7 separate regions of the Homo sapiens genome follow, and all the other regions are linked to region 5. The links are contacts of gene promoters, found by promoter capture Hi-C in blood cells and fetal thymus (Javierre and others, 2016). All regions are on one chromosome and are shown on one strand. Each heading gives the region's core, a stretch centred on a gene start or on the middle of the fragment in contact. The rest is flanking DNA. Distances are from core to core; before and after follow the strand shown. Region 1 overlaps ELAPOR2 (endosome-lysosome associated apoptosis and autophagy regulator family member 2). Region 2 has its middle 6.2 kb from the start of DMTF1. Region 3 overlaps DMTF1 (cyclin D binding myb like transcription factor 1). Region 4 overlaps ELAPOR2 (endosome-lysosome associated apoptosis and autophagy regulator family member 2). Region 5 holds the start of SLC25A40 (solute carrier family 25 member 40). Region 6 has its middle 9.1 kb from the start of TMEM243. Region 7 overlaps DMTF1 (cyclin D binding myb like transcription factor 1).

The links. The method cuts DNA at HindIII sites, captures the fragments that hold promoters and counts their contacts. A CHiCAGO score of 5 or more calls a contact.
Region 1: a contact is called between a fragment that was not itself captured here and the fragment with the promoter of SLC25A40 in region 5, in 1 of 17 cell types (non-activated CD4 T cells). The highest score is 5.1, in non-activated CD4 T cells.
Region 2: a contact is called between a fragment that was not itself captured here and the fragment with the promoter of SLC25A40 in region 5, in 2 of 17 cell types (monocytes and total CD4 T cells). The highest score is 5.6, in monocytes.
Region 3: a contact is called between a fragment that was not itself captured here and the fragment with the promoter of SLC25A40 in region 5, in 1 of 17 cell types (activated CD4 T cells). The highest score is 5.0, in activated CD4 T cells.
Region 4: a fragment that was not itself captured here is called in contact with the fragment with the promoter of SLC25A40 in region 5 in 2 of 17 cell types (activated CD4 T cells and total B cells); the score reaches 5.7 in activated CD4 T cells.
Region 6: a fragment that was not itself captured here is called in contact with the fragment with the promoter of SLC25A40 in region 5 in 4 of 17 cell types (fetal thymus, M0 macrophages, total B cells and 1 more); the score reaches 5.6 in fetal thymus.
Region 7: a fragment that was not itself captured here is called in contact with the fragment with the promoter of SLC25A40 in region 5 in 2 of 17 cell types (monocytes and fetal thymus); the score reaches 5.5 in monocytes.

What each region holds. Positions count from the first base shown.
Region 1 is chr7:86,973,775-86,977,935 of GRCh38, forward strand. All of the region lies in intron 1 of ELAPOR2 (endosome-lysosome associated apoptosis and autophagy regulator family member 2), which reads right to left. Among named protein-coding and RNA genes, the nearest start is that of ELAPOR2, 84 kb to the right of the region's middle. The HindIII fragment of the contact is 3,694 bases long and covers 1-3,199 here.
Region 2 is chr7:87,144,274-87,148,302 of GRCh38, forward strand. No RefSeq gene overlaps it. Among named protein-coding and RNA genes, the nearest start is that of DMTF1, 6.2 kb to the right of the region's middle. The HindIII fragment of the contact is 3,334 bases long and covers 965-4,029 here.
Region 3 is chr7:87,187,412-87,191,639 of GRCh38, forward strand. It overlaps DMTF1 (cyclin D binding myb like transcription factor 1), which reads left to right. Exons shown (of 18, transcript NM_001142327.2): 13 at 681-890; 14 at 3,534-3,616. Among named protein-coding and RNA genes, the nearest start is that of TMEM243, 30 kb to the right of the region's middle. The HindIII fragment of the contact is 7,508 bases long and covers 1-4,228 here.
Region 4 is chr7:87,053,826-87,058,123 of GRCh38, forward strand. The region is part of intron 1 of ELAPOR2 (endosome-lysosome associated apoptosis and autophagy regulator family member 2); the gene reads right to left. Among named protein-coding and RNA genes, the nearest start is that of ELAPOR2, 3.7 kb to the right of the region's middle. The HindIII fragment of the contact is 2,372 bases long and covers 1,640-4,011 here.
Region 5 is chr7:87,874,548-87,878,447 of GRCh38, forward strand. It overlaps SLC25A40 (solute carrier family 25 member 40), which reads right to left and starts at 1,813. Exons shown (of 12, transcript NM_018843.4): 1 at 1,549-1,813. It overlaps DBF4 (DBF4-CDC7 kinase regulatory subunit), which reads left to right and starts at 1,946. Exons shown (of 12, transcript NM_006716.4): 1 at 1,946-2,231; 2 at 3,506-3,678. The coding sequence starts at 2,186. RefSeq lists silencers at 1,206-1,655, 1,786-2,045 and enhancers at 1,409-1,918, 2,106-2,225. The HindIII fragment of the contact is 3,397 bases long and covers 389-3,785 here.
Region 6 is chr7:87,226,651-87,230,942 of GRCh38, forward strand. No RefSeq gene overlaps it. Among named protein-coding and RNA genes, the nearest start is that of TMEM243, 9.1 kb to the left of the region's middle. The HindIII fragment of the contact is 1,208 bases long and covers 1,587-2,794 here.
Region 7 is chr7:87,162,838-87,166,525 of GRCh38, forward strand. It overlaps DMTF1 (cyclin D binding myb like transcription factor 1), which reads left to right. Exons shown (of 18, transcript NM_001142327.2): 2 at 658-780; 3 at 2,097-2,213; 4 at 3,646-3,688. The coding sequence starts at 2,105. Among named protein-coding and RNA genes, the nearest start is that of DMTF1-AS1, 12 kb to the left of the region's middle. The HindIII fragment of the contact is 1,943 bases long and covers 1,241-3,183 here.

The sequences.
Region 1 (4,161 bases), core at 103-2,602, 900 kb before region 5:
GCCACAGCTCCTTGGCCCACAGACTGTAAAGCAACAAGAGGAACACAGCTAGAGGAGGACCCTCTATAGTAGAGACCAAGGCAGGGGCCCCTCTTGCCTGGTCTAAAGGTAGTATTGGTTTCTATTATATGACAACATCCAAACATAAGAATAGCAAGAAAGATAGCTACCACTTTATAAACTAAAATTTAAAATTTCTTAGAAGGGAGGGAGGATCCCTCCCTCTACCTCTTGAAGGGTCTTCACGTAACTGGGTAATAGTAATTTTCTTTTTTTTTTAATTCCAAACCCAAATTAAAATCACAACGGTATATGAAAGTATAATTTTCCAAAAAGGGAAAAGCAAAATCCTTGGAAACCCATTTGTTCTGTCTAATTATATATGGTTACAAACTTAACTGTATATAAGCTAATAAATTCTTCTAAATTAATCAGGCTGAAACTAAAAGGGCGTCTTTGCTTTTGCAAGGTTTCAGCAACTGCTTACTATTTAATAAGCACCAAGAGAAACTACATCAAAATTTCCAAATATATTATATATACCCCGTGATACCTCAATTCCACTTCTAGGCATGTAATCCAAGGAAGCCATGTTTGTATCATAGCATTATTTAAAATAGTGAAAACTTTAAAACAATTTAACTGTGAAACAATAAGAGACTGGTTAATAAATTAGGGTACACACATAATAAGATTTCATATAGTCCATTTTAAAATAATACAAAGGTATATTTAATAACAAAATTATTTATGACACATTTAAGTGTTAAACACAGGTTATAAAGCAATATATCTGAACCCCTGTAGTGTGTGTGTGTGTGTGTGTGTGTGTGTGTGTGTGTGTGTTGGATACATGAAAAAAGACTATAGGCATATATACCAAAAGATTGACAGTAGTTAACTAAGTGATGTGACTATCTTTATTCTATATAATTATGTATTATCAAAATTTTCTACAGTTAAAATATATTTATTTCCCTCAGTTCAGTTAACTGCTTTGCCAAGACATAAAAAAAAATTCATATTTCTCCTTACTTTAGGATATCTGGTGGGACATGGGAAAATTCAAATGGTACCACTGAAGGATTATTCCATAACATTCATTAGCACCTCAGTCTAAATCACTTTCCCTGATGGGTGACATTCACCTAGCAAGGCTTTAAAGGCCAGGTCATAAGTAAGACACAGGTCAGATAAGTTCTGAAGAAGGGAAAATCTAACGCTTAAGTACTTTCGAAATGAGCAGATACAAGAAGGATTCTGCTACAGAGTGGATAAAGAAAAGTGGGAATAGTCAAACGAGAGAAAAGAGAACAAAGAGATGATGGAGCACAGACAGCACAGTTCGCTGACTTCAAAATTTGGCTTCAGAAGGGATAACTCCACATCTGAATTCAGCTAAGCCGCTGGCAGATCTCAGACAGAAAAAAAATTATAAAAATTCAATTTAAATGTAAAAGCTGATTCTTGCCAATGCTGCCACTTGAAATTGAGCTTTACTTTGTACAGAAATAGTATAAGTGATAAATGGCTCTGAACATTAAGACATCCAAAATTATGTTTTTGTTTGCAAATTGTGAGATAAATAAAAATAAGTGAGTTATTTAAGTTCTTTTGCACTCAACTGACCCTGTAAGAATCTCTTAAATCAATAGATTTTTTAAAAAATAATAATGTAACCCTAATAATACCTCTGTCATAACTATACTTTCTAAAATTAACCTTAAAACATCTATTAAAAGGTTTTCTTCTTAATCATAAACATTAGACACCTGCTGTTCTGTCTGCCTGGCATGGCTTTCCTATTTCTTTAGGTAACAGCATGCCCCCTGCTCTCATTACACTTTGCAGTTCTGAGTGGGCCAACCCCTGGCCAGGCCCTAATATGGACATGCTATCTGGACAGTCACAATAAACTATTCACACTGGTGCTAACCAAGATGGAGAAAGTCCGCTACAGTTTCTTTTTCCCACTCTGCCCAAAATATAAAAGCAAGACTCTGCAAAATAAACAGCAGGTAGTCTGAATAAGAAAGTCAAAACTTTCTAACAGCTAATACAATGGTAGGGAGTTACCGGGCTTCTTTTCTTTCCTTTTTCTCCTTGAGCTGAAGGTGGGCCAAATCAGGGAATTGCACAGTGGGTTCAGAATGCAAAAAACTACAAGAGAAGCCCATTTTTCTGGCCAGAAGAATAAGAAAAGAGATCCCTGTGGTTGGAGTACTGGGAGAGGGGAAATGGGATCAGAAAGTGAGAGGGATATCCATGTGCTTTTTTTCTTCTTTTTCTCTTCCAGTCCTTCCCCACGGCCAGCACCAGCTTAGAACAGCACTGATTCCACAACAACCATGCAAACACCTAATATGCCAAGAGAAAACCTCTCTCTCTAGATAAGATAACTAGAACAGGGACTTCAGCTGTGCAAAGAGCTTAGGAGAAAATCCTTATTATTCTTTTTCTTCCTTCCTTCACTTGTCACTTCATCCCAGGCAAGTAGAATTGCACAAAAACATGCAGGCTAAAACTATACAATAATCCATCTTTCTGGCCAGAGGAAATATAAAAAGCAGTCCTGAGAAAATATTCCAGAGAGTAATAGAGAAGATAATCCTCTGGTTCAGTCTATGAAGTAACAGTCCCAGGCTCACCTTCAAACTGTGCAAATATGGAATATACTCAAAGAAGTATAGCAAAGGCATGGAGAGCTGAACTACAATATAAACCACTATCTGAACTAAACCCTGAGTATTGAGCAAGGGGCAGATGATCCTGCCCCTCACCTGCCCCCTCCACACACACAAAAGATAAAAACAGCCAAAGTTTTGAAAACTGAATAGACACTGGAAGGAACCACCACACATAAAAGGGAGAAAAAACATGTGGTCTGAACCTAACCAGGTCAACTGGCTGCTGAAACAAACCAACCGTCTACAGAGGATTTTATAAGGATCTAGAGATTCACAACATAATATTAAAAATATCCAGAATACGATCAAAAATCACTTGGATATACAAAGAACAAGGAAAATCCGACTAATGCTCCAGAGAAAAGACAATCAACATATAACACCACCAAAATGTCACAAATATTAGATTCTCTAAAAAATGTAAAGCATCTATTACAACCATCATGCATAAGGTTAAGGTACTCTAGGGCCTGGGGTCCTCAGAACTGCCCTGCATAAGTTCTGTGTTTTCAAGCTTAAACTGTGTGAGTCGGGTTGCTGTCACTGCAACTATGGGTGCTAACAGATACTTGAGATAGGCAATAATTCTATAATACCAACTCATATTTATGTATGTCTCAAATCTCAGTCAAGGTTGATGAGTGTGGTGGTGATGATAGCTGCCACTCATTAGTGATACATATCAATCATTGTGCTAAGTTCACAATATCTTAGTGCTGTCGACCACCTTGTAAGGCAGAGTTTTTACAGATAAGGAAACCAACAAAGATTTAAGTAACCTCCCAATGTCATAGAGCTGATTTATAGGGGTTCTGGGATTAGAATCTAAGTGCCTAACTCTAAAGCCTGTCCTCATGACCATTATAGTTCCCGTCCTGGATCCTAAGAGCTAATGTTAAATCTAAAAACTTCATAAACAGAAATCAGAATAAAAGCTGATGCCTCATTATTCCTCCCTGTACATCACAGAAAGCAGAATTTGGCTAGCAACATCCCCTTTCACCCAATCTCTCCCCGTATCTCTCAATATCATGTCTCTCCCTATATCATACCTCTCCCTGTACTCTCAATACCATAACACCACCCTGTCTCCTGAGGAATCAATAACCTCAAAGTAAATTTTAAAATAATTCTTCACAAGTTATCTGTTCCAAAATAGCTTTACTTTCTACCACGTCTTCTAATTCCTCAGCTTTGTCTGTTTTCCTACATCAGTTTCAAAACAATATTTAATATTTTGTTTTCTGATTACAAAGCAATACATATTCAGTATGAAGAGTTTAGAAAATAGTGAAGCACATAAAAACCTATCATAATATCATCAACCAAAAATAACCACAGTTAGGATGCCAATCATTTTTCTAAGCACATTTATTTAAAAATTAAGATACCCTTTATCATATCAAGTTTATATTTTGCAAGTAATAAGTATTAACATTTACTTGAGAAAATTAGAAAATATGGATAAGGATGG
Region 2 (4,029 bases), core at 1,382-3,881, 730 kb before region 5:
TGTGGCTTTTCTGCATGGGCTAGTTTGGCCTTCCTCCTAGTATAGCAGCTGGACTATTTACATGATGGCTGATAGGTCTTTTATGACCTATTTTCAGAAGTCACATAGCACCACTTCCTGCATATTCACTTCGTTAAAATTGCCACAAAAGCTGTCCAGTTTCAAGAGGAAGGAGTCATATACCACCACCTGTCACTGAGAGAAGTGTCAGAGTCACATTATATAAAAAGGTTGTTGGATGGGAGATACTGCTGTAGCTATCTTTGAAAATATATGACCTGCTACATTGCAAGCCTTATAGGGAAGTTCCATAAGAAACAGGGCATTTGAGTAGTAGATTAGCAGAGTTATAAATGTAGGAGTCATCAGTGTATAGAGGGCAATTGAAGCCATTGGAGTGGATGACATTACTTAGGGAAAGAGGATAGAATAAGAAAGAGACATAGGCTTAGGGGTCACCGTGAAGAACTCTAAAATTTAAAAATCAGGCCAGCAAAAAAGTGTTTAAAGAAGTAGGAGGAATTCCAATGTACTGTATCAGAAAGCCTAGAAAATGCATTTTCAAAGAAGGAAGAGGTGGTTATTTCAGGAGGAAATGTTGCTGACAAATTAAGTAAAATGATCATAGAAAATTGTTCATTGGATCTAGCAGTGTGGAGGTCACTAATAATCTTCATAGCATGTTATGGGCAGAAATCAGACTATAGTGGTGGAAAACATATAAAAGGAAGTAAGAATAGTTCTATGGGGAGATGAGATCAAAAGCACAAAAAGAGGAATTAGCCTTGAATAAGAGAAGGAACATCTCTAGGATCGGAGGGAAGGAATTTAGAATGAGCACAGATGAATGCATGGGGATGGAGGCAGGCTATTGAGGGAGTTTATGCTTAAAAATCTCTGTAAAGGTCATTTATTTATAGAGAATTAAAAGGAACATCCATCAGGGTGTGAGAAGCACTCCGAAAGCTTGTTACAGAGTGAAAAACAGTTACATTCCTTGCAAACCTGCAGCGTATGATCCATGACTTCTTTCATTGGAATTGAATTTCACTTTTTACTTGTTTAAACAACAATAAAAAGAAAAACAATCAACCACTTTTCTATTTAAATTTTCAAATAAATAAAGGATTTAAGAATATCACACTGTAACACCAACTGAATATGAGAATGGTAGGAAAACCCTGGTCACTTGTTGAATGCTACCATCAATTGTAAGCCATTTACCCAAGAGAAATCTAAAATCCTTCTTTCGATTTATTACTTTATCAAAAATATTGTTGTGGTAAAGACATATAAGAAAGCCCTAAAAGTGAAAGGCTTCAGATTTATTTTCAGTGTTACCCATAGCAGGAGACGGATTTCTTATATAGTACTATATTTACTGTGACCTTTTCAAATAACAGTTATTTATAACATTATGTATGAGACATTGTTGTATCACATATTTCTCTAGCAATTGGTCTACAATGGTAAAGTACCATGGATTCCTTCCCAGAGGAGATTCTTGTGAAAATTTATTACAGGCTCAAGATCAAGAGTGTTCTCAGAGAATGATTCCATGGCAGACAGCTGTTCGGCAAAAGAATAGAAAAAAGAAAAAAAGATTCCAGCATCATATGAAAATGGACTTCTGTTCAACAAAAACAGAGCTTATCCAACAGAGATAGAGAAAGGAGTTTCACCTTATTTCAGAAAATGACTGCGATAGCCTTGTCTTGCTACACCAGGTTGAATTAACATAGGCCAAAAGTTCTACGTAAATGTATATTTCTGGTTAAGAAATGTAAATAAACACAGAAAACAAGATATTAGAGATACTGTGACTGCTGAATTCACATATCTTCCTTATCCTAGGTTTGCTAAAATAGATATAATACTGCTGAAATTACAAAATATGATTATATATAATAAGGTTATTCTCAAGTCTAAACACCCCATAGAAACTCTCCTTTCCTAATCCTATTAGCCCCAATTTTATTAAATTAAAAATTATATATTATATGACTTCACCTCTGCCCACTTAAGATGCAGTCACTGTAACAAAAGTACTATGCTATGGAATTTAATTTGATACAGTTATATTTACTACAACTTACTACAATGTAATTCTTAAACTAGGTATTAAAAGACTGGGTTGATATTTCAGGTAATTTTAGAGGAGAAATAACATGTTTGGCAGTGTTTTCTGTTGGTTCAGATCTTAACTCTTAACAATTTCAGGTCCAGAAAGACCTCTACATTGCCCGTGTTTATATACATACGTTGTATGTCTATTAAAGGGATTCAGAGAACACCAGCCAAAGGAGATTCAAGAGGACGTATGTGTTTCTCTTGTGCATAAAACACTTTGCCTAGAAACATGAAAACAGAAATTTCCAAGAAGAAACACATTGACCCATCTTTTCTAATACTAGTAATTTAGCTTAATCTGATGATACCAAGTGATTTTGTCACAGGATCCTTTGAGAGTCACGTCACCAGCCGGAAACCTCTGTGGCCGGCAGCACCTCTGCTTATGTTTCGCTCGCACCAGCTGGGCTCATTCTGCCCACTTGGCCTGGCAGACTGCCCTCGGCTCGCACTACCAGCCTTGATCCCAATGCCTGAGGATGGCAGGCCAGGCGTGAAGCGGTGAGGGGTGTGGGAGTGAGCGAGCGCGAGGTCTGGCCACTGCACACAGATAGGCACACTGGATGCTGCAGTGAGGCAGGCAGCTCCAGGCACCAGCACAGGCACCTGCTCCACGCGAGAGGCTGCAGCTGGACCAGGCATACTTCAAGCGGCTTCCACTGTGGGCACCGGCGTCTGGACGAAGGGAACATGGTGGCACCTGAAAACTTGGGAGTCACCAGCAACTGCAGAGCCCCCCAAGGGCGGGGGGTGGGGGTCATGCTACAGCTCTCTTTCCCACTGCCTGCAGCTCAGCGAACCAGGGCGGGGACATGTTTCAGCCCACTCAGTCCTCCTGCCTCACTCCAGCCCACCACTCCCGGGATGGCTCAGCCCCACCACCGCTTCCCATCACGTGGGGCAGCTGCCCAACACCAGCAGATGGCGGGAGGGCTATAGTGTTACAGCTCTGGCTCAGGGAATCCCAAGGTCTGGGCCTCCAAAAGACTCGCTGCTCTTCACTCCCCTAGTCGAGCAAGTGGGAGCATGTCATCGCCCACTGCTCAGTGAGCCAGCCAGGAAAGTGTTATAGCCCTTTTCATGCCCTCTCTTCTGCAGGTCATGAGTTCTTGTCCTGCATCCAGGAAAAATGAGGTTACGTGGATAATCGGAGGGTGAGCAAGGCAGAGAAGAGTTTCACTGAGTGACAGACAGCTCTCAGCAGAGAAGAGACGCAAGTGGGTAGCTCCTATCTGCAGGCAGGTAGTGTTGACTCGTGGATGAGTCCAGGGTTTTTATGGGCTCAGAATGGAGGAAGTGTGTGTTAACTGGCCCATGGGTGGGAGGAAGTGCGTGCTGATTGGTCCATGAGTGGGCCTGGAAAAAGCACCATTTGATTCATTCAAAGGCATTAAGAAAGTTCTCACTCTGGGTACTGGATTCTACTTGGAACTGGCGGCCCGGTTTTCAGGCTTCAGGCTGTCTTTGGCTTGAAGGTCAGGTTTCACTGGGACCTGTCCCATCCACCAAGGAATTTGTCTGCCTCCTACTGCTATCAATTTGATTCATATTTTGTTTTCTTCCCTCATTGTTAATTATAAGCAAGTTTTACAGGCAGTTGCCAGTAATTTAGTGAGTACTTTACCCAAAAAAGTTTGGCACAAAGATGCACTTATACTACTATAATGTAAGCTCCTCCATTAGAATATATGTTCCTTGAGAGCAGGGTTGTCTCTCTTGTTCTCCATCATATTTCCTGTGCCTAAAATAGTGCTCAGCCCAAAGGAGGTGCTCAGGAAGAGCTGCTGAATGAAATGACCGAGTGTATCACAAATGTGCAAACTCCTGAAAGTTATAAACATTATCGTAGTTCCTTGTTTCTTCCTGTTTCACTGCATATTCTGTGCAAAGGAATTAAAT
Region 3 (4,228 bases), core at 211-2,710, 690 kb before region 5:
GCTTGTAGTCCCAGCTATTGGGGAGCAAGAGCCTGAGGCAGGAGGATGGCTTGAGTCCAGGGGTTCGAGGCTGCAGTGAGCTATGATTATGCCACTCCAGCCTGAGCAACAGAGCAAGACCTTGTCTAAAAATAAAATTAAATTAAAAAATCCAGTTAGAGAGGATAAGCGTATTTTACGAATAGAGCAAAGCAAAGTCTAGAATTGGCTTCCCTGCGCAAGAATACCATATTACTGTTTGGAAAAGAGAAGTTGCTACCTCTAGACCAACAGTCAAGGGCCCTTCAGCCCTGGCGGGGAAAACATACACTATTCGTTTAAAAAATGAAAATAAGCTGTTTAGCATTGCCAGTATTCTTCCTAAATAATAATCCTATCAAGACACCCTAGAATAGAAAATGTCCTGTTTCCATGTTCTTTGTAATGTCTACCTTTTTTTAACACTATAAATCTTAGATGGCAAGAATAACAATATTAAGAATTAAAATTTGTTACGATGTTTATAAAAATCTCAGGATATGTTGTTTTTTAAAATATCTTATTTTTATAAGCTCTCACATCCAGTATGCAGTTATTTATTCCAAATACTTTCCCTCCTTACCTCCCCCCACCTCCCTTGCTGCTTAGATGGTGGTCTGTCGGAGAATCAATGTTCTTTTTGTCTACCCATCTCCCTTCAGTCTTAATAAAAGGTCTTAAACAGTTACATGAGAACCAAAAAAACAACCCAACGCTTTTGGAGAATAAATCAGGATCTGGAGTTCCAAACAGTAATACCAATTCCAGTGTGCAGCATGTTCAGATAAGAGTTGCCCGCTTGGAAGATAATACAGCCATCTCTTCTAGCCCCATGGCAGCATTGCAGATTCCAGTCCAGATCACCCATGTTTGTAAGTGTTTGATCTTCAAGATTCCTTGCTGTTTGATCTATATGATTTGGTTAATGGCTCTGATGTCTTTTGGTTTTCTAGAATGTTAATAGAAATTTACCCAAGTCGGTGAACTGAAGGACATCTAAGATATTTTGTTTAGTTCAGTTAATATTTGCACACACAATGAATGTGTGACAGGAAGGATGTATAAGCAGTTGCCCAACCATTATAAACCATTTGAAACCATCTTAATTTCTAGATTTTGTAATTAATGACTTAATAGAAATTATTAAAAATAGAAATTAGAATGAATGATAGAAAACTACCTAAAAAGCAGTCAATCAAGCAAAGAAATAGAATTCACCAACTGGTATGTCGTGTAGTAATTTCACTAGAAGACATATCAATTGGGGATTGATTTGAGGTCGTTTGGTAAAGAAATGAGTTTTGGCAAGGTTAAGAATGATTTTCTTCAGGGAGTAAAGGGCCAGTTTCCTATTGGGAACTGTGTTTGGACAGTTTTATGCTTAATGAGATTATGGGAACCCAGCCATTGTTAGAGTGAGAACTTTTTTCTTCTTTAGGTATAAGTCAAATTGATCTTTATCCCTTCCCGTCAGTCTTGAATTATAGTGACAAAAAAAGGAATGAGGATGAAATTCTCAGAACCATATTCTTCCTTGTTTTTGGTCTACATATGCTACCTGCATTTGAAAAGATAACCCAAGAGTATTCCAATCACTATGTTAGTCTCAACCAGGTGATTATTGGCATTTTGAGCGACAGGTTTTTGCAGACTGTCCTTTACATTGCAGGATATTCAGTGTCCTTTGATCTTGCCCACAGAATATTAGTAGTACATGCCAGTCATTATGAGAAACAGAAACACCCTGCATGTTTCCAAATATACCATTATGATTCCCTGGTTGAGAATCGCAGAACCACATATTGGTGTTTAACACCATATATCCATGTACATTGACTGTCAGAGTTACCTTAGAGACATTTAAACTAACCATACCTCTTATTCTTAAAATCCTAATCTGAATTTGGTTATCTTTCTACCAGTGTAATCAACAATGAAGGATTTCTTTTCGTTTTTGTTACAGTCTGAGGATTGCAAAGCAACTAAAATTACTAGTCCAAGTAAATATGAGAGTTGCTATTGGTTATAAATTGATTGGGCATGTTAGTTTTTCTTGGCTATTGAGTTGACAGTACCCATTGGGAAGACAAACATTTTATAAATGATACCTTAATATTGATAGCATCATTTTAAATAGTATTTAGAATTTTCTCTCTTACAGCAAGAAAAATGAATATAGTTAAGTGTTCTACAATCCACCTATTACCTGTAGCATTCTAACTAAAATCTCTTTTCGTTTTTTAGGTTAGGGAACAGGGATCAGCAAATTTCTTTATGTAATGAGCCAGATAGTAAATATTTTAGGCTTTGCAGGCCACATAGGTTTCTGAGGGATAGTCTTTGTTTAGCTTTTAAACAACCCTTTGAAAATGTGAAAACCATATTGGCCTTAAGCTACATTTGTCCCTGACAGTAGTTTGCTAACCTTGATTTAGTTTTATCTGGAATCACTTCAAATTATTATAGCTGTGATCTTATGGATCCATCAAACAGTAAGATGAATATTACAAATCAAGTGCATTTCTATTGGTAAGGGCATTAGATTCCTTTTAAATAGCTGAGAAGTGTTGTAGTCAGAATTTAATAAACTATAATAAACATTACACAGTAAAAGTTCCAAATCATATTTCACATAATTTACCTATAGGTATGACTGCAAGCGCCAAAAAAGATGACATTTCTAGCATGTTCTATTTAACCTTGAGCAGACGTTGATAAAGTCTGATCCTCAGTTGACACACATGTAAAGACATTATACTGTCTGATCTTTATTCAGTCCCCAAATGTGGTCTTCGGAAATAATGCTCTCTTAACATTTATTTGTGTTTACAAGCACTTTTGATCCTCACAGCTGTATGAGGTAGGCAGGACAGGTAAAAAAAAAAATACCTGAACATTAGTTTATAAAGTAAGTTATTTACCCAGGTTTTATACTGCTAGGAAGTGATTAAAGCCTAGTATTTTTGGACTACCAGTCCAGACATCCATAGTGCTTACCCATATATACAAGAAAACTAGTTTTTACCAAGTTCCTGTCTTTTTGCAGGTTGGTCTTAGTGTGTTCCTCTTTACTTCCTACCGTTAGAAACATTTAATCATGTATACCAAGGGTTAGCAAACCTTTTCTATAAAGGAACAGATATAGTAAATATTTTAGGCTTTATGGGCCTTCTGGTGTCTGTCACAGGTACTCAACTCTGTTGTAGTGCTAAAGTAACCACAGAAAATATATAAACCAGTAGGTGTGGCTGTGTTCCAATAAACTTTATTTACAAAAACTGGCAATGGGCTGGATTTGTGGGCCATAGTTAGCCCACCCCTGCACTATATGTCATGCAAGACAAATTCATTAGATTCCTTATCTCTCTTAAGAAATGTAAATGACTTCAGGTCTCCAGGCAAATTATTCAATATTAAATTGCCTTTATGATAATTGAGTACACTAGAGAAACTTAAATTAACAAAACATTTATTGTAAATTATTCTTACCACAGCTTACCTTATTCTTACCACAGCTTCAGCAGACTCTCCTGCTACCGTTGACTCAGAAACAATAACACTAAACAGTGGAACACTACAGACATTTGAGATTCTTCCCGTGAGTAACGCTTCATATATATTGGCCATTTTTATGCATGAGAAAGATCAGTTGCTATCACTTTTGTGTTTCATTTGCTTATGATTCATAAAAGTCTGAGGCCAAATGAATGGTAGACTAAATCAGACTTCTACTTTTATAATTTTAATCAGCTTTTCTCTCATCTGTATATAAACCAAAATGTTATCTATATGAAAATGACAGTGCTAATGAGTATATACATACTGTGGATTTGTACTGAGTTATAATTTATAACCAAAAAGTTCATATTGGTTATTTGAGAAAGTCTGTGGACAAACTAATCATGAGCAATTTAACAACATTCATTCAGTAAACACTGTACTAGCCACTGGGGATACAAAATGTAACAGTCCCAGTGCTAAGTGGTTTAGCTGCTTTGGAAATGTGTTGTAGCTCCTGAAGAGGTTAAGCACAGTTACCAAAGGATCCACCTAAGAGAAATGAAAATATCTGTCCAATAAAAACTTGTACATGAATGTTCATGGCATTAAACAACCAAAATGTCTAGCAACAGAAAAATGGATAAAATGTGCTATTGCCATGCAAATATTACTCAGCAATGAAATACTGAAACATGGTACAACATTGATG
Region 4 (4,298 bases), core at 1,576-4,075, 820 kb before region 5:
CTACTCATCCTTTAGATCTTACCTTAAACATCTTTTCCTGGTAATCCACCTGCTCCCAGCCCCTAACTAGGATGGCTATTCATTCTCACTGCACACGGAAATTTTCCGTCACTGTACTTATGGCAAATGTAATTGCATGATGTGTGGTTTTGTTTTAAACCTACTCCCCTGAGATTACAAAGCTCCATGGAGCAGGGGCCTATGTTTTGTTCATCCATTCATTGTCAATACCTGCTATATAAGTACATGATAAATATATGTATATATACATATTGAATATTGAAATACTACATAGAACACACATGATGAAAGGCAAAAAGGAAAGAGAATAATCTGTGGTTTCTTCAAGAGAAAAGAAAAGCAACCAAAATGTGGCTAGTGTTTTCTGACAATAAAGAATTATTATAAGATGCAAGACTCTGCTGGAGAAGACACTATGATAGGAAAACGTGCCACTCTATACTATGCTCTGCTATTTCCATCCCTTGTGCTAAAATATGACACTTCACAGATCTGTCAACTCTTGGTTTTACATTGTAAATATTGATGGTGTGAATACTTGCTCGCATTTGCCTAAAACATGAGAAATGATTCTAAGCATAAGAACTGGAAATGGAAAATTCACCTCCACAGGCATTAACAGGAAAGATTAGTTACGTTAACTGCTTGAAAACAGAGGCTGAGTCCTAACTCCTTCAATAACAGTGTGACTGTAGAACCTTTGACAGCTTCACCCATAGCCCATGGCCTTCAGGGACTTCCTACAGAAAGGATGTTTCTCAGCTGTGCCCATCAAGTTCTGAAACAAAAAACATGACCATTACAGGTCTTGTGGTTTACATGGATTTTGAAGACCCAGTAGCTTACCAAATCTAGGAAGGCTCTATAACACAATTCCACTCCATCACCACCATCTCACCTCCCAGTTAACACTCAACCCATCTCCACCATCCCATAGGAAACACTCTGGTGCTGAGCACCAGTGACCTAATCACAGAATTCAATCTTCTCTCTTCAGTCATCATCTTATTTGGATTTCATCGGGCAACTGACACACAATGAGCCCTATCTTCTTCAAAGGCTTTTCTTTTTCCCACAACTCCACACTCACATTTCTTCTTTACCAGCCATTGCTACATGTCTCCTTTGTGAACTCCTCGGTTTCTGTCCCCTTTCATGTAGGTAAAACCCAAGTCCTATCTTCAGCACTTTGTTCTCACTCCCTGCATGATCTCAACCAATCCAGTCATTTCAACAATGTCTTCCATTCAAGTTATTCCCAGGTCACCACACCAGCCCACACCATGCCCCTGAGGAACAGGGCCTAATAATACCTAACTGCCTACTCAACAGCTCTACATAAAGTCACTCCTTCCAGACAGAACAAGCTCCTTATCCCATCTTCTTCACATTTCTTCTCAGGGAGGTTAAGAGGCACCATCCTCTAATCAAGTTAGAACATTTCATTCTCTCACCCTCTGCATCCACTCACTGCCAATTCTATCTAAAGCATACTACTCCTCTTTTTGAAGTCCTACTACTGCATCCTATTGCCTACCAAATGAAGACCAGCTTCTTAGTGTGATATAAGGTCCCTTATGATAGGCTCCTGCCTGCCTGTCAGATTCATCTCTCATTAAGCTTCTCATTGCATGCTGTACTTCAGTTAGAACCAATTACAATACAATGCTGTTTCATGTTTCTGCCCTTTTTCAATCTGTGCTCTTCACCTGAAATGTCTTTCCCCCAAACTAGCCTACACTCACATCTGACCCTTGTCTGCTTGGCAAATTCCTACTTATCAATTAAGTCTCATTCACTTCCTCCATAGGGCCTTTTCTGATCCCACCCCCCTCAGTAGATATGATGGCCCATTGCTTCTTTCATGGCTTCAAATCACTTAACTGCAATGTTTGTTTACATATCTGTCTCATCCTTATCCAATTAAATTATATTCTTTAAATTACTAATTTCATATCTGACATTTTGTCTAGCACATGGTATAAACTGAATGTGGAACAAAAACTGTTAGCAAAACTCATCATTCAGTAGTCAGGGAGAACAGCAGAATTGCATTATGCAAGATTTTACAGCAGTGAACTAAGAATCAGCTATTTTGTGATTTAATTTACCAAATGTAAATAATACAGACATAATCCAATTAGTTCTGTTCTTTTTACTCTCATGTACTTTTCTATCTTCTGATACCTTACTGCAACTCTGAATTATCTGTTGGCCTTTATATTTTTTTGCTCTGGCAGCCCCATTAAGTCCTATTATTCACTGAGTCAAAAATGTCATGCCAAGTCTTGGATGGGCCTATCCTAGGAACCTCTGGAGTCTCACTGTAGACTCTTCCCAAAATATCAGGATCTAGCTCTACTAATCTAGCAATAATCAGCCCTCATATTTATATTTCTCCTTTATCTTATATTAATCTCATTTCATCCTCATAATACAAATAATTGGTCATGTTTCATTAATAACATTTTATAAGTGAAACACAGGCCAAGAAACCCAAAGAAGATTTACCTTTTATAAGTTCACCCCATACAAAAACCTGAGGAATTCTATACTTTCTGATGTCCAGGCCTCATTTATTTCCTTTGAATACCATTTTCCAAAGTCACATCCTATTCTTGTGCTTCATCTGCCAGCACTTTGACTTTCCTTTTATTTCTGTCTCCCAAATGATCGCTTCCTGTTTGTGCGTGTGCTTCCACACTGCTGATCTGATCACCAGCTGAACATTCCAACACAATAACTTTTCTCCCCCTTTCGACTTCATAATCCAAAGACTTTGACAAAGGAATATGTATTTTATGAGTTTCACCCCAGAGTCCATTCCTCTGCAAAAATCTAAATGTAACTTTTACCCATAACCTAGTTTTTGAAGGGCCTTTTTTCTGAACTCAGGCAATTATAACTGGATGACTCCCAGGCCAGTTCTCTGCATTTGTCTTCCTTTAGTTGCTTTCCTCTAAAACCAGGCAGGAAAATCAGAGTTTATGTAACTTTGTTAAACATGACTACTTCTACAAAAATATTAATAAATGAGGGTGACACAAACTACTGGGGGGAAATGAGGTTCAAAATGGCCTATAGCTTTTTCTATACTCCTCAACATTCTCTCACATTGAGAGTTGGTTTTAGCTCTCAGCCTGAAAATTCCTCACTTTAACTGCCCTCACTCTGTTCCCCACTGCATAGTCTGTCCTTTGTGGCATTTGCCTCCTTTAATGTTAACAAAAAGTGGAAAATGATAAACGAGCAGGAGTGAACACAGAGTAGTTACTTTAACTGTGTCTTTATTCACAGGCGTTTAGCCCACAATCCCATAACTGTATTCAGAGGAAAGGGCTGAGCTCAAGAGGATACCCTTTCCCCACTCCCAGCACAAACATTCCTTTACCTTCAAAGTCTGAAAATAACTTGCCCTCCCCACTTTCCTCTTAAAAACAATGTCAGAGAAAAACAATGACCAATTCTGTAAATTAGCTCCACTGGTTAGACCAGATATCAAACAGATTCAACCCCTGGGAGGTCACTAGGCCTCTTCTACTTCCAAGAACTTCTAACTCCCATTAGTTCCTCTTACTTGTCAGTCATCAGGAAGAACATAAATGGATCTGTGCATTAACATTTATAAAAACATACAGCCAAAGGCAGGCTCAATAGCGTCCTCCTATATATTTTATTTATTCTCATTTTTCAGAAGGAAAATGTAAATTTCAGATCTCAACGGATGAGTCACATGCAATTTCTAAAGCCAATGCAGTAAGGACCTGTGATCAAGTGAACCCAGCCTTCCTGAACCTTCTGTCATCTCTCTGCCCCTCCTTTCAATCTTTGTTTTAGGTTGCAGACTCTTCTTTCTAGGTATACATGTGTAGGACATGTGTTCATCTAAAAGATTAGTCTAGTTGTAGAGACCAAAGGCATCACTTCTATTGACCCTGACCTTCGCCTACTTCAAGCAGATTTTCATTACTAAGAATCGATGTTATCAGAAGCTTAAGACTTTTCAGTTTAGAAAAATATATTCTGCATATTAGAAGTTGGGGGCTGGAGGATAAAGTTTATCTTGTCACAACTGTTCAATCTGAGATGTCCAAGAAGCAGCTTTCTGTGGAAACCTGGAATAATGGATTATTCCCAGGTGATATGTAAAGTTGTAGAATATAGATTAAGCTCATTATACTAAAAAGCCCTAAAATTAAACACAGCTGTTTGTTGAGCTCTTGCCCTGATTTCCCCAATTACAACATTGCTGTGTGTTCGCACACAAGCCTTTGATC
Region 5 (3,900 bases), core at 563-3,062:
AAACGCCAAAATCAAATACTTATTTTTCAAGTCTTAACCTTATCTGTCCTGGGGATGAAGGAACTGGTGCAGTGTTCACTAGAATGATAGTAATTATGGAGCTCTTAAGGAGCTCTACTCTGTGCCAGGCACTGTACTAAGCATTCAAAAATGTTCATTTAATCTTCACAACATCCCTGAGAAGTACTACCCCCTTTTAATAGATTAAAATTGGGGCTCAAAATTACCCAGAGGCCAAGTAGTTAGTGAAGCCCATATGATTCCAATGTTTGCAGTCTCTTCCCAATTCTGTGGCATTTTCTCCATCTCTTTCACTATTTCATCAACGACGCTTATAATCAATTCTCTTATTTCACATGCTCTCCTTGGCAATTTCATTTCCTCCCAAAGCTTTAACTACATTCTATATTAGTGCTTCCCAACTTTTTAAATCTTTCTGTAAATATAAACATTTTGTGCTCTCTGTAGCTTATATTTTGAAAATAAGTTTTTTCCCATAGAAATTACAATATTGAATATGTTTGTTCAAACTACACTTCCTTCCACCACTCAAGATCTGTTAACCTCTAATGAATTGCCCCATGATTGACATCAATAGACCTTGATGCAGAAATATTTTATTGGAGAGATATCAAATCAATCTCTATTTCCTCTTCCCATGTCCACTTCTGCTAGACATTTCTCTCGAGTCATAAACATCTTTAACTGTCTAATAAGCATAGTTCCATGACTGTCGCCCCAGGCCCTTCAACATAAACCTGTCTAAAACCAAACTCTCATTTCCCTTAGCAAACCTGTTCTCTGCGTTCTCCAGCTAATCTTGTCACAACCCACCCTTGTCTATTCTTTAAGGTACCTACCTGCAAAACCGTAACGCTGATACTCTGACTTCCTTGAGCTACCAGGTAAAAAAATCAACCACTACAGGAGTGCCTATTATGGCCTGGAGTAGAGGAATGCAAAATAGTTCAAAATATCCTCTTCCTCCTGAAGAAACAGATTTTTTTTTTTTTTTGGAGAGGCATGTTCCAACTTATAAAATTAAAATATATTCACAAGCATTTTAATTTGATCTTTAATCTCTGTTTTACAGGAAAAAAAAATGAGATGTTACTTTCCACTCCTTCATTGTTGAAATAAACTTACACTCAACTAAAAGAAAACAGGTCTGAATACAATAAAAGTCAACAGGACAGCGCAAATAGCCAACTACCCAAGGACACAAAGTGACCTGGAGGCGTTCTGCGGTGGCGCTGCCGTCAAGGCCGGGGCCGCCTGGCCAGACCCTCCCTCAGACGCCCCCCGGGGCCGCCCTCACTCCCGCACGTCCCTCTGCAGCTGTCCTCAGCCGGTGGGGTCGGCAGTGACCGCGGGAAAACCCCGCTTGCTGTGCGACCCAGGGCGCGCTGAGCAGGGGCTGCGGCTGCCGCCGCTGTCCGGCTCCGGTTCCGGCCCCGGCCCCGGGCCCGGCCAGAGCTGAGTCCGGACTCAGCCAAAGCCCCTCGCCTTCAGCTTCCCAGACGTCCGACCAGTGGAAAATTAGCATACCTGGGGCAGAAGGCAGCTGCAGGGCCGGCAGTCCTGGCAAACCTAGAAGGCGGGAATAACCCTGGTGACGGGCGGGGCCGGGCTCCGGCGCTAACTGCATCCACTAGGTTTGGTCAACACAGAGCCGCGCCAACTCTCTGAGGCTGCGCCAAGACCTGAAGCGGCGGACCGAGAGCCCGGGTCTGAGACTGAGAGAGCAACGGAATGGAGGCGGGGTAGAGGCGGAAACACAACCTGCAGGGCCAGAGCGAGGCGCGAGAAGGACGGCGGCGTGAGGGGGCGGGGCGCGCAGCGCGAGAAGGCAGGCACGAGGGGCGAGCGCGAGGCGGGGCACGGCGCGTGGCGTGAGACGGGGCGGGGCGCGCGTATCGGCGCCGCGGCCGCGTGACGCGTTTTCAAATCTTCAACCGCCGCAGCCCACTCGTTTGTGCTTTGCGCCTTCCTCCTCCGCGCCTTGGAGCCGGATCCGGCCCCGGAAACCCGACCTGCAGACGCGGTACCTCTACTGCGTAGAGGCCGTAGCTGGCGGAAGGAGAGAGGCGGCCGTCCTGTCAACAGGCCGGGGGAAGCCGTGCTTTCGCGGCTGCCCGGTGCGACACTTTCTCCGGACCCAGCATGTAGGTGCCGGGCGACTGCCATGAACTCCGGAGCCATGAGGATCCACAGTAAAGGACATTTCCAGGGTAAGAAGCCCCTCCTCCGCCTGCAGTCCCTTTAATCCTTTCCTCCCCTCGTGGTTCCACCATTGATTCTTCAGACTTCTCCCGCCGGGTCCTCAGCTTCTTTTCTTCTGACCGGCCTCTGGGGTCTGAAGGAAGGAGCCCCCGTTCAGTGTTTTGCCTAAGAAGGAACGGATCCTGACCCGGCCCCTCGAGCGCTCTGCCGTTTACAGCGGCGGTCCCAGATTGATTCCCGGTCGTGCCTTCGGTTGAAAACTAGCAAACAATGTGCAGATCCGGGACCTCGCCGGGACTGCGGCGCTGTCTGCTCCCGGGCTCTCGCATATGCTAAGCCTCCGCCCGGGCCCTTGGAGGCGACGGACTGCATCCTCAATTTAAAGTCAGACGCGCTCGTGGCTTTTCGCTTCAGGATTAGATTGAGTGATTGTGGGTGGATTTTTGGTCTTACCCTTGAAAGTTTATTTTCCTTTCCTCATAAGTTGGGGGAAAGCATTGTATTTCAAACACCCCATTGCTGGTTTCAACATTACAAACAGGGAAACAAAAGCAAATTTCCATTTTCAGTCACTTTATTTGGTGAAACATTCCAGCACCTAAGTTTTTTGTACAGGTGTTTGTGTGTGTGTAGTAACTACCAATTTAAGAACAGATTGCGTTTGAAAAATTAATTTTTAAAGCAGTTGCTTGGATCTCAGATCTGTTTCTAATGAAAATAATGAAAGGTTTAGTTCTTCGTAATGGACCGTTAAGTTCTTAATACGTAGACAAATTGTATGTGAAATGGACCGTTTAGTTGTTAATATGCAGACAAACTTTATATGAAACTAAAACTTGAGCAGTCTGAAACCCTTGAGGACTAGGTTATTCTGCGTAACAGAGGATTCTTTCATCGCTAAATGAAGTTTAAACACCAGTTTTGAATGTTCAGCAGAATGGCAGATGCTCAATAAATAGTTGAGTATTAAATATCCCCATGGAGTTTACATCCTAAAAAAAGAAAATCTTTCAAAAGAGTTTTATATAGTTCCGTGCCTCAGGAATAAACACACGAATATTTCTTGCTGAGTCAACTATTATTTTACAATATGCGGTCTGTGAAAGTATATAGGGCATTTTGCCTCTATCCTAAGTAGTACTACAAAGAAATACATTTCAATGCTAATAACTTAAACTGGTAGGGTTGTAAGGATTTTTATTCTGTAATATTGTATAATGAAATATTTTAAAAATAGTAAAAGTGTCTGTGTAAAACATCTGATTCTAAACATCTTTAATAGGTGGAATCCAAGTCAAAAATGAAAAAAACAGACCATCTCTGAAATCTCTGAAAACTGATAACAGGCCAGAAAAATCCAAATGTAAGCCACTTTGGGGAAAAGTATTTTACCTTGACTTACCTTCTGTCACCATATCTGAAAAACTTCAAAAGGACATTAAGGATCTGGGAGGGGTAAGTGAAAACCGTACACTGGCATAGAAGGAAAAATTTGTAACTAGTACTTTCTACTGTGTAATCATTTAAATTTTTCATTTTGGAAAACGCTTCTATTAGCACCAAGCTTAACATTTTTATCAGCTGTTTATCGTTAACAAAAAACCATTTGTTTTAACCTTTTGTGGACTGACAGACCTTTCAGGTTTCTCTGATTAGCAGTCTAGTGTAAAGTTCTTA
Region 6 (4,292 bases), core at 941-3,440, 650 kb before region 5:
TTCTCTCTCTTCCCAGTGTTCACGAATGAGAAGAGAGTAGACCAGGTAAGCTGTGCCTGAGTCTTGCTGAACTGAGATGTCTCTTAAAGAGCAGGAAGTGGGGAGAAACACACATCTTCAAACTTCTGCTTTGAGTGTGACCCTCACAGCCTCACTCAGCGGACTTCATGAAAAAAGGCAAAGGGAAAAACCAAATCAAGATGGGAGGAAGGCTGCAGTTCCAAAGGAAAGTAACAGAAGGAGATTAAGGGAGAAAATGTCTTTCAGCAGCACAAGAGCCAGATGGGAGTAACTGCTAGGGGAGCACATAGTCTGAATAGTCATGTAATGGGAAAATTGATTTACAGATATAAGGAACTTAGGCATTGCAACCAATTGCACACATCAATCTGTATGTGCTCCTAAGTGTAGGTAGGATCTGTGGGCCTACTGATAAAACTTTTTGAATAGAAGGATGAGATTTCTACATACCCCTTGCATATCAGGCAGGTGCTATGGACCAACCACCTCCACAACTGGGAGACTCGAGCCTGGTCTGAGCTGGGGAAAGTCAGTGTCAGTACCAATTTCCTCATCTGTAAAAGGAAAAATTATATTCTACTCTGACTGATCTAAAATGCTAATACATTAGCTGGGCATGGTGGCAGGTGAATGTAGTCCCAGCTATTCAGTAGGCTGAGGTGGGAGGATCACTTGAGCCCAAAGTGGATCACTTGAGCCTGGGATGTCAAGGCTGCAGTGAGCCGTGATTGCACCACTACACTCCAACTTGGGTTGGACCCTGTAAAATAACATAATAAAATAAAATGCTAATACACTGTGAAATAATTAGAAGATCTATTTTTACATTTTTGTACTTTTGCACCAGGCATGGTGGCTCATGCCTGTAATCCCAGCACTTTGGGAGGCTGAGGCGGGAGGATTGCTTGAGGCCAGGAGTTCAAGACCAGCCCTGGCAACATAGCGAGGGCAGGCTTGATGGCACATGCTTGTAGTCACTGTACCAGGGAGGCTGAGGTGGGAGGATGGCTTGAGACCAGGAATTCAAGGTTGCGGTGTGCTGTGATCACACTCTGCACTCAGCCTGGGTGACAGAGCAGCAACTTGTCAAAAGAAGGAAGGAAGGAAGCAAAGAAGGAGAAAGAAAGAAGAGGGAGGGAGGAGAGAGAAAGAAAGAAAAAAGAGAAAGAAAGAAAAGACAAGAAAAGAAAAGGAAGGAAGTATTTCTAGATTTACGTAAAAGTTGAAGAGAGAGATAGTACAGGGTATACCCTTCACCCAGCTTCCCTAACATCTTATCAATATAAAACCATGGTACATTTAACAAAACTAAAAAAAAATAGCATTGGTACAATACTATTATCTAACTAGGGGTGTCCAATCTTTTGGCTTCCATAGGCCATATTGGAAAAAGAAGAATTATCTTTGGCCACACATAAAATACACTAACATTGATGATACCTGATGAGCTAAAAAAAAAATCACCAGAAAATCTAATAATGTTTTAAGAAAGTTTATGAATTTGCACTGGGCCACATTCAAAGCCATCTTGGACTGCATGTGGCCCATGGGCCACGGGTTGGACAAGCTTGATCTAAACTATAGATATTATTGAGAGTTCTCTATTTTTAAATAAGGCTGCTATGTAGTGAGACCTGTGTCCTTGAGCAAATCTCAGAGGCTGTCTCTTATGTCCACTAATAAACAAAAATTTCCTCTCTCATAGAGGTGTTGTAGGAATTAAATGAGATGTAATAGGTGAAATAGTTTTTTTTTTGTCTTTTTTTTTTCTTTTTGTGGAGAACGGGGTCTCACTATATTGCCCAGGCAGGTCTTGAACTTCTGGGCTCAAGCTATCCTCCTGCCTCTGCCTCCCTAAGAGCTGGGATTACAGGCTTGAGCCACTGTGCCCAGCCGTGAAATAGATTTTTACTCTAAACTGCTATTCACTGGAATAAGCCACAATGGATAAGAGATAATTTTTAGATGTTTTAATAATTGACTTGGCAGTGCTACTGAAGCAGATAAAATCTGCAGCACTGGTCTAGCAGCATACATTGCTGAAACACTGTTCTCAATTTGAAAGTGTAAAATTTGCCCAGAGAAATTAGAGAAATACATTCATTAAGTCAATCCTCTCAAATATGAGCAAATAGATTCTTGAGCAGATAAACAATTTCCTAAAGTTCCTACAATAACTTTTGGATTTTTCACATGTGTATTATTTTTAACTAATTAATTTCATGAGTCAGGAATTTGAAAATATTTAAGGACAGGTAAATAATTTTTCAGGTTTTGAACTATATTTCTTAAGAAAACTTAGGAAAAAGTAATGGAACTAATACCAGTTGTTATTTCATTATTTCATTCAAAATCTAGAATATTACTGATAATAATTTTGAGTAAATTATTTAAAATTCAGGCATACCTTTAGGAAATGTGTGTACCATACCCTGGCTGTTTTTTTTTTTTTCAGTTATTCATTTAGCCTTAGGAGTTTCCATTTCTTCATTGTAAAATGGGCACAATGGAATAGTTTTTCAAACCTCTCTGAGACTGACATCATGTGACTGTTTCACCACAAGAGAGAGGCCTAACATTAAAGGGGAGAAAGAAAAAACAAAATAAATGTAAATGTAGTTCACAGATGCAGGACAGTTATAGCTGTTTTTCATGTAATGATATTATTGGCCTTTATGTTTTAGACGGAGTGGTGGTTTAAAGTCTTTTTCACAAAGGTATTTTCTCTGTGATAATTTTAAACACAGCACGACACAAACACTGTACACACTCAAGCTTAAACCTGCCAGCCTTGATGTAGGTGACTTTCCCATACTATTTAAGTTGTTCTCTAAATAGACATAACAGTGGGGGTAGTAACACTTCTTTTCTTAGAATAATGCCACTCTAATTTTTTTAGGAAGACTAGACAGAAATACAATCTTATTGCTTAAACATCCAGCTTCACAGTGAAAAATAAATATCTGAAGAAGTTAATAATATTGCTTAACATATCTATGACATCTTTTTCTAATAATGGGCAATATATCAATTTAACCTTTCAAGTGTACAAATATGGGCAGGGTGTGGTGGTGCATCCCTATAATCCCAGTGCTTTGGAAGGCCAAGGCAGGAGGATCACTTGAGCCCAAGTGTTTGAGACCAGCCTGGACAACATAGGGAGACCCCACCTTGAGCCCAAGTGCTTGAGACCACCTGGGCAACATAGGGAGACCCCATTAACTAGGCATGGTGATGCGCACCTAAAGCCTTGGCTACTTGGGAGGCTAAGGTGGGAGAATCACTTGAACCCATGAGTTCAAGTGAGCTATGATCACACCACTTCATTCTAGCCTGGGTAACAGAGTAAGACCTTGTTGATGGCAAAGGCAGCCAATCTGGTGCACCCACTGCAAAGACGTCTACTGCAGCAGGGGAGGTTATCAGTCTGCAGGTAACTAGTGGGAGCCCAGCCCCTTTCTGAATTGGTGGGGCAGGAGCCCTGCCCTCCTGGGTGCAGCTGCAGCTGCCCAGCTGCAGCTGTGGACCTGGGCATCTCTGAACTCTTGGGGACCAAGGAAGACTCCTTCCCCCACAGGCTGGGAAGTGCCTGCTCCTGCTGCCTGGCCTCGCCCTCCTCCTGGCACCCTCTCTGATTTTGGAGCAAAGTTGAGGCCCAGCCCAGGCACTGTCATGACCCAACCAGGTGTGTGTGCACTCAGGGTGGTGCTAACATGCCAGCCCCCTGCCACCTTGGCCCCCTCTAGACTTTGGGTGCCTACCAGCATGGGAGGGAGGCTGATGGGGGCCACTGAGGGGAGCTCGGAAGAGGCCTGGAGGCTGCCCTCCTCACAAACAGACTGGGTGCTGTGGACAACATGATTGATGAAGGCAGGAGGCAGACAGGCTCCTGTGTGGAAAGGGGTGGTCCCCAGTGAAGCCCCACCTTCAAGTCAAGGATGGCCTGAAGCATGAGGGCTGGGCTGTCAGTTCCAGTGGAGTCAGCCAACTGGAGTGAGAGCTGGACACACCTTGGGGTGACCTGCCAGAGGAATGGAGCTACCCACTGTGGATCACCTCTCTGCTGAGAGCTGAACAGACATCAGGATGACCTGCCTGTGGATAGGAGCTACCCAGTCTAGATCTCCTCTCTGCTGAGGGCTACGCAGATGTCAGGACAACCTGCCAGCAGAAAGGAGCTAGCCACTCTGGGTCTTCTCTCCACTGAGAGCTGGACAGATGTCCAGACAACCTGCCTGCAGAAAGGAGCTGCTACCCACTTCGGGTCTCCT
Region 7 (3,688 bases), core at 962-3,461, 710 kb before region 5:
GGTTGGCTTTTGAGGATAAAGATGAGAAGCTTATTGAAAGAAACCTTTAAAAACCATTTCATATTTCATAAAGTTTCACATTGCTTTCAAGAGCTTGTAATTTGTCTTTTCTGGCCTAATTGTTTAAGGTTTTGTTTTTGTTTTTTCCACAGATTCCTAGATAGGGTTGTTCATCTGTCATCTTAAAAGGGTTTTCTGGATGAATAGGGTACTATATAATTTTTAATGCTTTAAGATAAAACATAAAGAGGTGTTAATAATTATAAAGGAAAACTATAGTTACTAATAATATTTATGGTGCTGTATTGATTGATATACACATCATGTTACATAATGGTACCACAGTCTACAGTTCATAGAATCACTAGCATAGCTGAGCCTGTTTTTTTTTTTTTTTTCAGAGAACGTTTGTCTGCCTGATGAGAGCCACTTGGGTTAAGAAACTACCTGTGAATAGTCATCATTTCTGTCCTTCATTGGGGAATACTTTTAGAGGCCAGTTTCCAAAAATTCTGCTTAAAAAAGAATTCTGGTTTTGTCTTACTCTTCCAGATGAGATATCACAGAGGCTTGGGCCTAGATTGTCATCAGCATACTGCTATACTATTCGTTTGTTCTTATTAAGCCTTATTGTGTGTAATGCTGTTACTTTTTCAGAGTGTTGCGGAGATAGGAACATGGGAGAGAAACAATCTGGGTAACATGAAAGTGATGCTGGTTGCTAAGGGAAGGCAACTTGATTCTGTGGGAAGGGCTGTAGCTGATCCATCCGTTGTCTAGGTAAGTCTGCTTCTGTTGCAAGGATCTCACATGATTTGCAAATTTGTCAAAACTAGATCATGATTTCCATTTACCTTTATTTTGGGAATGGCATAATTACTATTGTAAAATGAATGATGTCCTTTTCAAATAGTAATTTGCATAGTAAAATTTTAATGAATTATTGGATCTTTACCATGTAAATGTTAATATATTTAAGTTTTTGTGCCAAAGGAAAATACATTCACTTCAGTGGTAAATATATGAATGGACTAATATCTTGTGTATAGGAGCCAGAGAGAGCCAGGCGTGTTGGCACGTGCCTGTACCCAGCTATTCGGGTGGCTAAGACAGGAGTATCACTTGAGCTCAGAAGTTCAAGGCTCTAGGACCCTTAAGACTGTGCCTGTGAATAGCCTCTGCACTCCAGCCTGGGCAACAATGAAGACGCCTTCTCTAAAAAAAAAAAAAAAAAAAAAAAAGCTTAATAAACATTGAGTAATTATATCAGGGTTTGTGTCCTCTGTATTATTTAGTTGGTAAAACATACGTGCCAAAAGTGAGTATTGAGGCAAGAACCTCCTTAAACCTTATAAGGTATTTCTGAAGACTTCAACCAGGCTATTGATTATAGTTTCATACCTTTCCCCCCACTAGCCATGAGATGCTATATTCTGAGACTAGTTATTCCATCTGTCTGAACAAGAGGAAAATAATATTTGTGTAAAATAGCAGGTAAGGATACTTTGAACGATGTTCAAAGTTACCTGTTTCAAAAGAAGGACTAACTCGTCTTTTAAAATTACAATTTGGTCAGTGATGGATGTATGCACTTTTTCAATATTTTGAAAACACAGCAAGAATTATTTAGTGTTCCTGTTTTTCAGATAATAGAGCTTAAATACCTGTAAAAAATGTTTTGAAAAAATAATTCTTAAGATAAAAGTTTTGATGAATCTTCTGCTTAAAGAAAAAGAAGTTAAGTACCTACAAAGCTGTCCATAAAAACACAGTAAAAAAGTGGGGAAAGTTTTGCTGATAAGACGGATTCTCTTTTGTTGGATGTTGCAAAAACGTTTTTTAAAGTATTACAAATGTTGTAGGTTTTTAAAATTTATCAGAGCAAACAGATTCTTTGAGATATCTAATTCTAAATAATGGGTATAAATTTGTGAAAGGCAGTTTTTGAAATCTGAACTCTCATTGCAGTTTTACATGAAGAACACTGTAGGCAGATACCCAAATAAATGTGTGTGGTATTTCAGGGGATTATAAGGGAATACTTCATATTTGGGAATAATTTTTGAAATCCTGATCTGGAATCTGTTCTTGTACAGATTTGAGTATGAGCACAGTGGAAGAGGATTCTGACACAGTAACAGTAGAAACTGTGAACTCTGTGACTTTGACTCAGGACACAGAAGGGAATCTCATTCTTCACTGCCCTCAGAATGGTAGGAGAACTTGCTGACATATAATTCTGACTCTCTGAATTTATGAATTCCATGTCACTTTTGACCCCTATTGCCCAAATAGGGGTCTAGGTGCCTATGAGTTTAGGCTGCACAGTAGAAAAGGAGATTATCTCTTTAACATAAATGTTAGTTTTTGTCAATCTTGTTGCTATGTTATAAATAGGATCTGTTGAGCCCCCAAAGGTAATGATGGAATAACTATAATATATACTTCTTTTTTTATACTAATTGGTACCAGCAGCATAGTTAATACATTAGAAAATGTAGAATTATTCCTCAATGCAAGTAGACTTTTTTGTTAGAAACTGTGTTAAAAAATTGTACACAATCATTTCAGTATGACTTAATATGGTGATCTACAATGAATTAAGATTCAATAGCTTTCCAGCTGATAATTTTGTTGTTACTCCCCGACTTGCTCATTATTTATGTCATTTATTTATTGTGCTCTGAAGTTCATCTTTACTCAACCTAGGTTATGTCTTCTCTTCTCACTCTGTATATAATTCATAGGTTATTTAATTCAAAGTTAGGATTTTAAGTAGCACCTACCTATAAAGATGACTCAGAATCTGTCTTTATACAGAATTCTCTGTGCTTCTCATAGGCATCTTAAGTTTCATATGTCCCAAACAATCCTTACATGTACTTCCTAAACCTAGTTCTCTTTTTTCCTTTCTCTGTGAATTTCATTACTTAGTGTCCAGATCATGAATGTGGTTGGGAATAAATTACTTCTCTCATCACCTGCATCATTTCATTTGAAGACTTCTTGATAGTATTATGTTTTTTAAATCCATTGCATCCTCTCTGTTTCAAGCCTGCCTTTGTTAGTTCAGTTTCTCATTTCTCATCTAGGTAGCTCTAATACCCTTTTAACCAGTGTCCTACCTATCATTCGTCTTTCAAGCAGCTGATGAAATTGTTCCTGATACATTTAATAGCATAAAGCTTCCCAAGGTTTTTAGAATATAGTACAGGTTCTTTAATTTGGCCCATAGGCCCCAGTCATTTCTGCTTTCCTCATAGTCTTACCTCCTGCCGCATTTCATATACCTGTGTTCCAGCAGATCACACTATCTTTATTTTCCTAACATACCTATACCTTAAGCTTCTCATACGTCTGTGTCATTGCACATATTGCTTCTACTGCCAAGAGAGATAGCAGTTTTCCCCGGGCTTCCCTTCTCTTTCAAGTTTAAGACACCGCCTTGAGGAGTTGAATACTGCATTGCAGTAGGCATAGAAAGGCAGTGTCCTTTTGAATCCTGTTTGCACAACTAGGTTTAGTTAAATGAGCAAATTGGTAAGAAAATTTTTTTAATAGATAAGAAAATTGTAGAGCCATTGTTAGAGATTTTATTTTCCCTCTTTGGTTTGAAATTTTTGTTTGTTTGTTTTCTTCCATTAGAAGCGGATGAAATAGACTCAGAAGATAGTATTGAACCTCCACA